Linked DNA regions of Homo sapiens: all the other regions are linked to region 3. The links are contacts of gene promoters, found by promoter capture Hi-C in blood cells and fetal thymus (Javierre and others, 2016). All regions are on one chromosome and are shown on one strand. Each heading gives the region's core, a stretch centred on a gene start or on the middle of the fragment in contact. The rest is flanking DNA. Distances are from core to core; before and after follow the strand shown.

Region 1 (4,126 bases), core at 333-2,832, 240 kb before region 3:
ACCTCAGGCGATCTGCCTGCCTCAGCCTCCCAAAGTGCTGGGATTACAGGCATGAGCCACTGCACCCAGTCTTTCTTTTTCTCTCTCTCTTCTTTTTGTTGAGACATGGGCTCATTCTGTCACCCAGGCTGGAGTGCAGTGGTACAATCATAGCTCACTGCAGCCTTGAACTCCTGGGTTCAAGCAATCTTCCCGCCTCAGCCTCCCGAGTATCTGGGACTACAGGTGTGCACTACCATGACTGGCTAAAAAAATTTCTTTTCGTTGAGACAGGGACTTACCATATTGACTAGGCTGGTCTCAAACGGCTATTCTCAAGCAATCCTCCTGCTTGGCTTCCCAAAGTGCTGGGATTATAGGCGTGAGTCACCATTCCTGGCCTTACATTTTTTCCTTGGGTATTTACTCTGTGCTAGATACTGGATCAGGCACTACGGATACATAGATAGATAAGACATGGTCCCTGTCCTCTAGGAGCTTACAATCTGGAGAAGAGATTGACTGACAGGCAAATAACTAGATTTGATGAGTGCTGTTACAAAGGCACATACAAAACTCTTTTTTAGTACATCTCGTATTGGTTCATTGAAAGTTGTCTGCACACAGATGGTGGTTAAAACTGTTGAAGTGGACTGAGCATGGTACAACATGCCTGTAGTCCTAGCTACTCGGGAGGCTGAGGTGGGAGGATCCCTTGAGTCCAGGAGTTTGAGGTGACAGTGAGCTATGATCATCCCACTGCACTCTAGCGTGGATGACAAAGTGAGACCCCTTTCTCTTAAAAAAAAAAAACAAAAATTGTCGAAGCGCATGGGTTTACCTATAAAGGGTTTGTAGAGAAAGAAGGTAAGAGCCCTGGTATGTGACGATTCTTGCAGAGAGAGTGAGAATTGTACTAGTTAGGATCCAGTCAGGAAATAGAAACCACACCAATTATTTGAATAGAAAAAAACTTTAAAGAATGGTTAAGTAGGCCGGGCGCAGTGGCTCACGCCTGTAATCCCAGCACTTTGGGAGGCTTAGGCCTGTGGATCACTTGAAGTCATGAGTTCGAGACCAGCCTGGCCAACATGGTGAAACCCCATCTCTACCAAAAAAAAAAAAAAAAAAAAAAAAATTAGCCGGGCGCGGTGGCGGGCACCTGTAATCCCAGCTACTTGGGAGGCAGAGGCAGGAGAATCACTTGAACCCGGGAGGTGGAGGTTGCAGTGAGCTGAGATCGCGCCACTGCACTTCAACTTGGGTGATACAGTGAGACCCTGTCTCAATTAAAAAAATAATGTTGGTTAAGTAGGTAACTGAAGAAAAAGAGAACAACCAAATTTTCATGGAGATAGCAATTATAGAAAACAACTCCCTCACTGGGGCTGGGGGAACAAAGGAAAGAGGCTGGAATTGTTAAAACTTAGAAGTTTGGAGGAAGGGCCTAGTTATGAAACTCAGACCTCTGAGTGGCACTGACTAGATAATACCGTTGTCTCTGGAGGAGGAGAGATGCAATGAAGGTGGTTCTGGAAAAACTGCAGGCTGGATTCGGCTGCTGTCATAGAATGGCACTGCCACTGCCAGGATAAAGAAGTGCTAAGGTGCCAGGCATCTTAATTGTGTGGGTCTGTGGTCCTAGCTACTCAGGAGATTGAGGTGAGAGGATCACTTGAGCTCAGGAGTTCAAGTCCAACATGGGCAACATAGCAAGACTGTCTCTTAAAAAAAAAGTGTTAAGGGGATACTTACATGAATGGGAAGACTTATATGAATGGGAAGACTTACATGAATGGGAAGCAGACAGGAAACCCATAGGAAACAAAAAGGAAGGAGCAAATCCCTTCTTCCTATAGCCTTGCCATCTCTTTCTAGTGCTCATTATTGGCAGAGCTTAATGAGGTTCAGCTAGCAAAGCAAAAATGTGATTTGCAGAGTCCAGTCTTAGTCTTCCAAGGCAGATTACAGGGTGGGTTCTGGAGCTCAAAGACAATAGTGTAATAACTGGTTTGATCCATTCCTTTGGCTACTTGGTGTCCAAACACCCTTCTCCACATATTTGAACTCCCATAGAACAAAAACAACTTTTTGTTTACCTAACAAGATGTAACTATCCTTCATTCATATACTTCATACAGACTAAGCCATTGTCAATTTGTCCCCAACATAAGGAGGTTAATAATTTATTTTTAAATTCAATCACAGTCCTATATGAATATTCTGTTACCGAAAGACTAAATTTTAAAGCTAACCTCCACCAAAACTTGTACAAACAATAAGGAAAAAAGGAGAGAGAAGAAAACAGTTACAGAAATATATTACAATCTTCATTTTCATAACTGGTCAAAACGATATAGTTAATATTTATAATTTCCTTCTTAATGGTGTTTGTTCTATGTATCCTTTGCCTTCAACGAGGGTCTCAACTGGTCAGGGTTTTTACATGGTAGGGTGACTCACACCTTCATTCCTGAAAGGTCTGAATCTTTTTTTTTTTTTTCCAAGCCAAACTGTATCCAGCTTTATTAAAGATACTTTCCATAAACAGTCATGGTATTTCAGGCAGGACATGGGCAGACAGTCGTTAACAGTATACAACAACTTTCAAACTCCCGTCTTCAGTGGATACCAAAAATCGGAAAGCCACTATAAAACCCAATGAAGTCTTCATCTGATGCTCTGAACAGGAAAAGTTTAGAGTGAGGGTTGACATTTCACATTTAGCATGTTGTTTAACAACTTTAAACAAGCCGACCCTGACTTTCAGGAAGTGAAATGAAAATGGCAGAATTTATCTGAAGATCCACAATCTAAAAATGGAGGCACTGTTCTTTCGACAGATGCCATCTCAGTGGCATCACTGGAAAGTCTAGATTGCCTGACACACTGGTAACCAATGATTAGGGGTCAGGTCCCAACAGATGTCTGGGTCTTAAGGGAGTTAAGTCTATGCTGAAAGGTAGAGAGGGAGAAGAGGACATAAAAACGAATTTGTTTTTCCATACCACAAGGCTTTTGTGCCAAAGTGGCCACGTGTGTCAAAGTCAGGGAATCCCTCCTCCTGGGAGCCAAGAGGAAGTCTCTCACAACTAGAAGGGAAAGATGTTTCCCCACATCAGTCCAGCTGTGAAGACATTCTATTAGTGACATATGCCCCTTCCCCAAAATATAACAGTGAAGTGTTCTGTGTGCTAACAACATAGCTTAAAAAAATTCTGCATTTTTATAAAACTTGATAAAAAATAGTATTTCAAACTGTACAGTCACCAGAAGTACACAGTTACCAAAAATGTACACACTTCACTTGGCATCTCCAGCACCTTCAGCTTTCTGTGCCTGGTCTGTCTTGGCATCTCCATTTTCTGCAGGGTTATTCCCTTCCTTGCCAGCATCCACTTTTCCCTTTTTCCCTTTGGGTACCTTCTCTTCTTTGCAGGGGCCTTTTTAGGCTTGGGCTCTGGCTTTGGAGGAGCAGATTTTGCAGACAACCTTGTGGATCTTCTCTGTGGTTCGTCCTTCACCTTGGCTTTATCTCCTTTAGCATCACCTTCAGCCTTTGTCTTGGGCATGGTGGCAGCAGCGACGGCAGCGGGATGTAGGTGCTGTGCGCGGGATGCAGCGGCACACGGGCTTTGGTCGGTCCAGGGGTTGTTCTCGCCTCTTCTTCTGAAAGGTCTGAATCTTCAGTGGCTCTTCCTTTTTTTTTGGTTGCTGATGTTTTTCATTAACTTTTACTATTGAATATGAGACTAGTAAGAAGAGCCCCAGAGAATACCTGGTTCCAGACATAGTCCTCCTTGCCATTATTGTTAGTGGCAACTGAGTTTCCCCTGGATATTGGGATCAGTCATTCCAGGTAGTAGAATAATCCCTTATTTGCCTATTGGTTGAATGACATGAGGCCTCAAAATGGCCAGATGATAGTCACAACTTCTAATTCAATGAAACCATTGTGTGACCTCTCATGGAAGCATTCTTTCCTTAGGAACTAAGATCTTTAGCAGAGCCCAAAGTTGCAGGATAGGATATGTTGTGGGCTAAATTTATATGTACCCCCCACCCCCGGCAAATTTATATGTGGAAGCCCTAACTCTCAGAACCTCTGAATGTGAGTGTCTTTGGGGATAGGGCCTTTAAAAAGTTG
Region 2 (3,678 bases), core at 339-2,838, 220 kb before region 3:
ATCTTGGCTCACTACAACCTCCGCCCCCCAGGCTCAAGCAATTCTCCTGCCTCAGCCTCCTGAGTAGTTGGGATTACAGGCGCCAAGCCACCATGCCCGGCTAATTTTTTGCATTTTTAGAAGAGACGGGGCTTCACCATGCTGGCCAGGCTGGTCTCAAACTGCTGACCTTGTGATCCGCCTGCCTCGGCCTCCCAAAATGCTGGGATTACAGGCATGAGCCCCCAGGCCCAGCCGTAAATTCTTACCTCTGCACTTCCCCTTCACATTTGGGCTGCCTGAAAATGGAGAATACTTACAGCAATAGAAACAAAGTCACCTCAGTTGCTTTAGGGATCAGATTCTGAGCTTGGTACTGAGAACCTTCTTTATCTGGATATCCTTCAGCCTCACTTTCCTGTCTCTTCCACCCCACAACCCAGTGCTCCAGCCACATGCAGTCTTTCCCTGGTCCTGCATATGCTAGGTCATCCTGTCTCACTGCCTGTGCAGTTGCTCTTCCTCTGCCTATAGGGCATTTCTCCTCTCTTTATCTGCTGATATGAGTCAGCCTTCAAGCCTATAGGGCTCCCCTGTCACCCTGGCTCCTTTAGGCGGAATGTGACCCACTGTCACCGTGCTTACCTCATACCATATTGTGGTTGACTGGCTGGGAGCTCTTTCAGGGCAAAACCTGAGTCTGGCATCTTTCCCCAGTGCTCGGCACGGGGGCTGGCAGAGCTGCAAACCCTGATGTGATAGCAGGGGTTGATTGCCCAAACTCTGGGGCTCTTTCTGCAGCAAGGAAGAGGAGGAGGAGCTCTGGTTAGAAGTGAGAAGGGAGGCCGGGTGCAGTGGCTCATGCCTGTAATCCCAGCACTTTGGGAGACCGGGACGGGTGGATCACGAGGTCAGGAGTTCGAGACCAGCCTGGTCAACATGGTGAAACTCTATCTCTACTAAAAATACAAAAATTAGCCAGGCGTGGTGGCACACACCTGTAATCCCAGCTATTTGGGAGGCTGAGGCAGGAGAATATAGCAAGAAAAGTTTGTCCTGAGACTACAGCAAGAAAAGAAAAGAACTGACTTCTAAAGAAAATAGTTTAGTCCATTTCAGAGTTTAAATGTCGGTCATCAAGTGTAATGAGCTAGGATCAGGTTTCTGACTTAGGAATCATACACGTATTCCATAAGTTTTAGTGTAGTTTTAAGCTTAAAACTTAACTTAAAAGCAGTAACTTAAAAGCAGTTACTGTTGCCATTTTCAAACATATGTACTTAAACAACAACAGGGAAACTAAAAATGTGTTATCAAATCACAAAACTGAAGTGTAATGAAATTTAACCAATTAAACTTCAAAAAAGAATATTTATTTTAAACCAAGAATCATTGTTTTAATGGATACATATCATATTTCTTTGATTCTGAGATACATTTTTTCACATTTTAACAGCTCTGAAATTGGGAGACATTTTACCATCAATGGTGCATCATAGTTTAATTGGGAGCACTTTTTCTTTCTTAGTGGTACATAAAATAATGGCTTGCGTTACATCAATAGCATCTTAAGATACAATATGTCATTTCTTTTATAAAAGAGAACAAGATAAAGATTAATTTCTTTTTTTTTTTTTGAGATGGAGTCTCGCTCTGTCGCCCAGGCTGGAGTGCAGTGGCGATATCTTGGCTCACTGCAAGCTCCACCTCCCGGATTCATGCCATTCCCCTGCCTCAGCCTCCCGAGTAGCTGGGACTACAGGCGCCCGCCACCACACCCAGCTAATTTTTTGTATTTTTAGTAGAGATGGAGTTTCACCGTGTTAGCCAGCATGGTCTCGATCTCCTGACCTCGTGATCCACCCGCCTCAGCCTCCCTAATTTCTAAACTCCTTTATATACTATCAGAAAATCTGGCTTTTTTTTTTCTTTTCCTGATAAGTCTGACAAGTAGGAAGGCTGTTTATGTGTCCACTTGTAAGTCCAATATGGCTGAGATGGGGTTAAGCTTGCAGTCCTCAGATGTATCTTTACCAGACATTAGTAGTCTCATGTCTACTTGGTCCTTTTTCTTAAAAGCTGTAAAACCAGGTATGCCCTCCATTCTTCTGGTGATGTATATTCTGTTTGGCATTTTTCTCCCCCAAAATCAGCTTCTATGATACTTAAAATCTGTGGTTGCAGTTAACGCTTTTCTTGATTTCTGAAAGTGTTAGAGGCATCCCTAATAGCTATGGTGACGAGTAGGAGTTTGGATATTATTCAGAGTGCAATGGAAATTCACTGAGATGTTTGGAGTAGCAAATATGCCTGATCTAAAAATTCTGATGGGGGAGGCATCACAGTTGTGGGTAGACTCCTAGATTTGGACTTGGCTGACCTGAGTTTGTGCCTTAGCTTTGCCACTTATCAGCTGTGTAGCCTAGAGTAAGTAACCTAACCTTGCTAAAGGTTCCCAAAGACTACCCCTAGGTTTGATGATTTGCTAGGAGGACTCATAGGACTCAACGTATAGTCATACTCATAGCTACGATTTACGGCAGTGTAAGGAAAGCAGTATCAGCAAAAGGAAAGGTGCATGGGGCGAAGTCTGGTGGAACCAACACAAGCTTCCAGAGTCCTGTCTCAGTGGAGTCACATGGGATGCACTTCTTAATTTCCCCAGGAATGAACTGTGACATGTGAAACCTTACCTACTGAGGAAGCTCATCGGAGTGTCAGTACCCCAGGTTTTTATGGGGGACTGGCCGTTCACGTAGGTATCCTCTGCTGAGCATGTACCAAAATTCCAGACTCCCAGAAGGAAAACAGGTATTCAGCATAAACTACAGTTGTCCCTTGTATACACGGGAGATTGGTTCCAGGACCGCCGGCATATACCCAGACCCACATATACTCAAGTCCTACAGTCAGCCCTGGCAAACTCCAGTAAGTTGGCCCTGTTCATATGCCAGTTTCACATCTAGTGAATACTGCATTTTCCATCAGCGTTCAGTTGAAAAAAGGCCACATATAAGTAGAACCACACAGTTCAAGCCTGTGTTGTTCAAGGGTCAACTGTTCATTGTACACATAGTTTAGTCACAGTGAGCCACTCTCTCAGTTCCGTTAGGAACCCTCCTGAAATCCAAGTTCCCAAACCCAGCCAAGAGCCAGCCTTGCAGAGAGGGTTTTCTAAGTATAATAGCCTCAGGCCTACTGTGTTAAATCTTTTCTGTGCACTCAATAAATTGAGGTTTATAGTAGAACCTTCCCTTGTTATGTCACAGAATTGTTGCAAACATCAAAGCCAGATGAGGGCCAGCTGGGCACAGTGGCTCATGCCTGTAATCCCAGCATTTAGGGAGGCCAAGGTGGGAGGATCACTTGAGCCCAGAATGGGCCATATACTGAGACCTTGTCTCTATAAAAAATTTTAAAATGAGCTGGGGCTGAGCATGGTGGCTCATGCTGTAATCCCAGCATTTGGGGAGGCCAAGGCAGGTGGATGGCTTAAGCTCAGGAATTTGAGACCAGTCTGGGCAACATGGTGAAACCCTGTCTCTATAAAAATAAAAATTAGCCAGGGTGGTGGTGCATGCCTGTAGTCCCAGCTACTTGAGGGGCTGAGGCAGGAGGATTGCTTACGTTGGAGAAGTTGAGGCTGCAGTGAGTCATGTTCACACGGCTGCACTACAGCCTGGGTGATAAAGTGAGACC
Region 3 (3,776 bases), core at 223-2,722:
CCCACCTTGGCCTCCCAAAGTGCTGGGATTACAGGTGTGAGCCATTGTGCCCGGCCGTTGTGTATTTTAAACATTGTGCACTGACCACTGGCTCCTCTCTCCTCACCTTACAGATTGACCTCAGCCAGCCTCTCCCATCCTCACCACTTCCCATCACAAGTTAGGTCACCGTCTCAGCACAGTCCTGAGCCAGGCCTGCCTGAGCCCTGACTGCCCCTTCCTCTGGCTCTCACCTGTATTTGCTGTGAAGATTAACCACAAACACGATCAGGTCAATTCGGGGCCGATTCACACTGGAGGGCAAAGGGAGGGACTTTGCCAAGTGGCTGAAAAACAGGAAATTGCAGGACTCAAGATATCCGTACCCCCCTCATAGCGACCGTTTAAATGCTGCCCTTCATGTGGAAAGAGGCCGTCAAGGGCTCCCCACCTCATCCTAGCCACCCGAGGCTCTTGTGGCCACGACTCCTTGGGCCAGCACAGAGGCAGGACAGGTCCGGTCCTATTCAGATTACTCCTGTCTGATTCCCTCTGCCAGAAACGGGCTCTGTTTAGTCACCACCTCGGCAAGGGGAGGTTGGGATATAAGACGGCATGGGACTAGCCAGCTACGCTGCATGCTGGGAGAAGGACCAGCCTCAGAGGAGGGGGCGCTGGGCTTCGGAGTTTAGCAGCTAGGACCGAATCCCTCTGGAGTGAGAGACACGTGGGCCCAGGCCACAGCCGCGGCTACTTACACCTTCAGCTCGGAGGCGCAGTCCTCTTTGAGCATCGAGTCCGCCAGCTGCTGCAGAAGAGCATCCTCCGTGCCCACCAGCTGCGCAGGGAGAGAGAGCGGACAGTCGAGCCCTAGGCACAGCACCCCCTGGGGAGGGCCTGGCCCTTCGACCCACTCCCGGGGGGATCGGGACACCGCCAGCAGGCGGCTCGGAGGACATTTCCCGAGAAGTGGACCCCGCGAAGCGGCACGGGCTGGGGGCCTGAGGTTTGGACCCGCTGCAGGCCTGTGGGCACCGCACTCTCTACTACCCGACCCTCGCTCCCACCGCCGGCCTCTCCAGGAGGCCAGACCCCCAGACGCGGGAAAACCAATTCCAGGCGCGGGAACTCGCCAATCAGAAGCTGGGAAAGGGTCCGCCGAGCACCTATTGGTGGGTGCGTCCCTCAACCTCAGAGAGCGGCTACTCCAATTGGTTCAGAGCATGGCTCTCCGCCTATTCCCCGCCCCCGCCACGGTAGCGCGCGCTGGCTTGGCGCCTCAGAGAGCTCAGTTGACCTAGTGGCTGAAGCACCGCCCAGGAGGAAAAACCGGCGGGGGAAGCAGGGCCGCCTGCACCTACCAAGATGGTGGCCGTGTTCAGGCCGGGCAGCTTGTCCAGGGGCCTCAACACCGACATCACAGCCGCAGGACCAACCGTTGCTCCTGCGGTGCGCGCCGATCTTTCAAACCGCCCTGAGTCCAGCCCCTAGAGCGCGGCCTGGGGGCACGTGCCTCCTTATAGGCGGGGCTTCGCGGGACGGGACGGGGCCTCTTAAAGGAACCGAACCTTTATCTCCTTTTCTGAGGGGCGTTCCAGCGCTACCCGTGGAACACGTGGTGGACAGGCCTTTGGTTCCACGCTCCACAGTAAGCAGGTTTTTAGTGATTCCTTTGTTCACTTTCATTCATTCATGCTCATACACAGTACTTTTTTTTTTTTTTTTTGAGACAGAGTCTCGCTTTGTGGCCCAGGCTGGAGTGCAATGCGCGCAATCTCGGCTCACTGCAACTTCTGCCTCCCGAGTTTAAGCGATTCTCCTGCCTCAGCCTCCCAAGGAGCTGGGACTACGGGCGCGCGTCACCACGCCCGACTTATTTTTTTATTTTTAGTAGAGACGGGGTTTCTCCAAGTTGCCCAGGCCGGTCTCAAACTCCTGGCCTCAAGTGATCCCGCCTCGGCCTCCCAAAGTGAGTGCTGAGATTACAGACGTGAGCCACCGTGCCTGGCCCTTTTTTTTTTTTTTTTTTTGGAGCGTCACTTTGTTGCCCAGGCTGGACTATAGTGACACGATCATAGCTCACTACAGCTTCAAACTCCTGGGCTCAAGTCATCTTCCTGGCTTAGCCTCCTGAGTAGCTGGAACTACAGGCAAGTGCCACCATGGGGATCTGGCCATGTTGCCCAGGTGGGTCGTAAACTCCTGGCCTCAAGCAGCCCTCCTGCTTCAGCCTCCTGAGTAGCTGGGACTACCGCTGCACACCAGCAGGCCCTGCCAATTGACTGCTTTTACAGTGAGTGGTAAGCATGCTGTTCTTTGTCCAATGGGAGACTTTACCTCATCTTTCAAGGTTCCTTGCTGCAAACACAGCCTGAGTACAGAGCTGTCAGGGTCTTGCTTTCTTGACATACCCAGCAAGAACATGCAGGGACGCTCAGGGCCCATAGCAAACTGGTTCTGCCAACAGTTATATAATAACTTGTTCACTGTCTCTACATCTAAAATGTAAGAAACAAGAGGTTAGAGACTTTGTCACTTTGTATGTCCAGCACTCTAAAAGTCCCTGGTACATCGTAGTTAATAAATATTTGTTGAGTGAATGGATGGATTACATTCATCCATTCATTCTCAGCAGTCATTCATTCATCATTTCCTATGCCCAGACCCAATGCCCTACCCTAGGAAGTCAGTTGAATCAGACATTATTGATTAACTTAGTTTGATGGGGGTGGGATAGACAATGATAACAGTGTGTTCATTGTTGTAATAACTGGGAGAGCAGAGACACTGTCTAGCCTAAATCCTTCTTACTGCAGACTAAACTAACTGTGTCTTGCTCAGAAAGATCAGGACGTAAATGGCCCCATAGAGCCACTGCCCTCAGCACAGATACGGCTTTCATTCCTCATGGCATGGGGTGTGGAGAGGACTTCCTGAAAGTCAAGCAGTAGTAGGCACTATGACAAGAAAATAAAGTAAGCTGAACGCCGTGGCTCATGCCTATAACCCAGCACTTTGGGAGACCGAGGCGGGTGAATCACTTGAGGCCGGGAGTTTGAGGCCAGCCTAGGCAATATAGTGAGACCTCATCTCTACAAAAAAATTTTTAAATTAGCTGAGCAGGGTGGGCATGGTGGTTCACGCATGTAATCCCAGCATTTTGGGAGGCCGAGGCGGGCGGATCACCTGACATCAGGAGTTTGAGACCAGCCTGACCAGCATGGAGAAACCCTGTCTGTACTACTAAAAATACAAAATTAGCTGGGCGTGGTGGTGCATGCCTGTAATCCCAGCTACTTGGGAGGCTGTGGTAGGAGAATCGCTTGAACTTGGGAGGCAGAGGTTGCAGTGAGCTGAGATTATGCCAGTGTACTCTGGCCTGGGCAACAAGAGCGAAACTCCATCACAAAAACAAAAAACAAACAAACAAATTAGCCAGGTATGGTGGCGGTGGCGGGCGCCTGTAATACCACCTACTCGGGAGGCTGAGGCAGGAGAATCACTTGAACCTGGGAGGCGGAGGTTGCAGTGAGCTGAGATCGCACCACTGCACTCCAGCCTGGGTGACATGTGAGACTCCATCTCAAAAAAAAAAAAATGAAAGATAAACTAAAGCTGTCTGGCAGAAGAGATGGATGGGAGGAGGCTACTTTAGAGCAGGGAGGCCTCCCTAAGGTGACATTTGAGCAGATGCTTGAATTCAGTGAGAGAGGGGCCCCTTAAGTATGATGAAGAAGAGGCCTCAGGCAGAAGGCAGTGCAAGTGGAAAGCCCCTGAGTGGGAAGCACTCCTGGCAC

The links. Contacts are between HindIII fragments. The CHiCAGO score rates a contact against its expected background, and 5 or more counts as called.
Region 1: a contact is called between a fragment that was not itself captured here and the fragment with the promoter of CENPM in region 3, in 9 of 17 cell types (naive CD8 T cells, endothelial precursors, M0 macrophages and 6 more). The highest score is 7.6, in naive CD8 T cells.
Region 2: a contact is called between a fragment that was not itself captured here and the fragment with the promoter of CENPM in region 3, in 8 of 17 cell types (erythroblasts, M1 macrophages, M0 macrophages and 5 more). The highest score is 7.2, in erythroblasts.

The regions. Positions count from the first base shown.
Region 1 is chr22:41,705,937-41,710,062 of GRCh38, forward strand. The region is part of intron 3 of MEI1 (meiotic double-stranded break formation protein 1); the gene reads left to right. It also overlaps the pseudogene HMGN2P10. Among named protein-coding and RNA genes, the nearest start is that of MEI1, 8.5 kb to the left of the region's middle. The HindIII fragment of the contact is 6,441 bases long and covers 1-4,126 here.
Region 2 is chr22:41,725,176-41,728,853 of GRCh38, forward strand. The region is part of intron 7 of MEI1 (meiotic double-stranded break formation protein 1); the gene reads left to right. Among named protein-coding and RNA genes, the nearest start is that of MEI1, 28 kb to the left of the region's middle. The HindIII fragment of the contact is 794 bases long and covers 1,192-1,985 here.
Region 3 is chr22:41,945,680-41,949,455 of GRCh38, forward strand. It overlaps CENPM (centromere protein M), which reads right to left and starts at 1,473. Exons shown (of 6, transcript NM_024053.5): 1 at 1,341-1,473; 2 at 738-817; 3 at 234-326. The coding sequence starts at 1,397. It also overlaps a transcript of SMIM45 not described here. RefSeq lists an enhancer at 1,277-1,486. The HindIII fragment of the contact is 15,549 bases long and covers 1-3,776 here.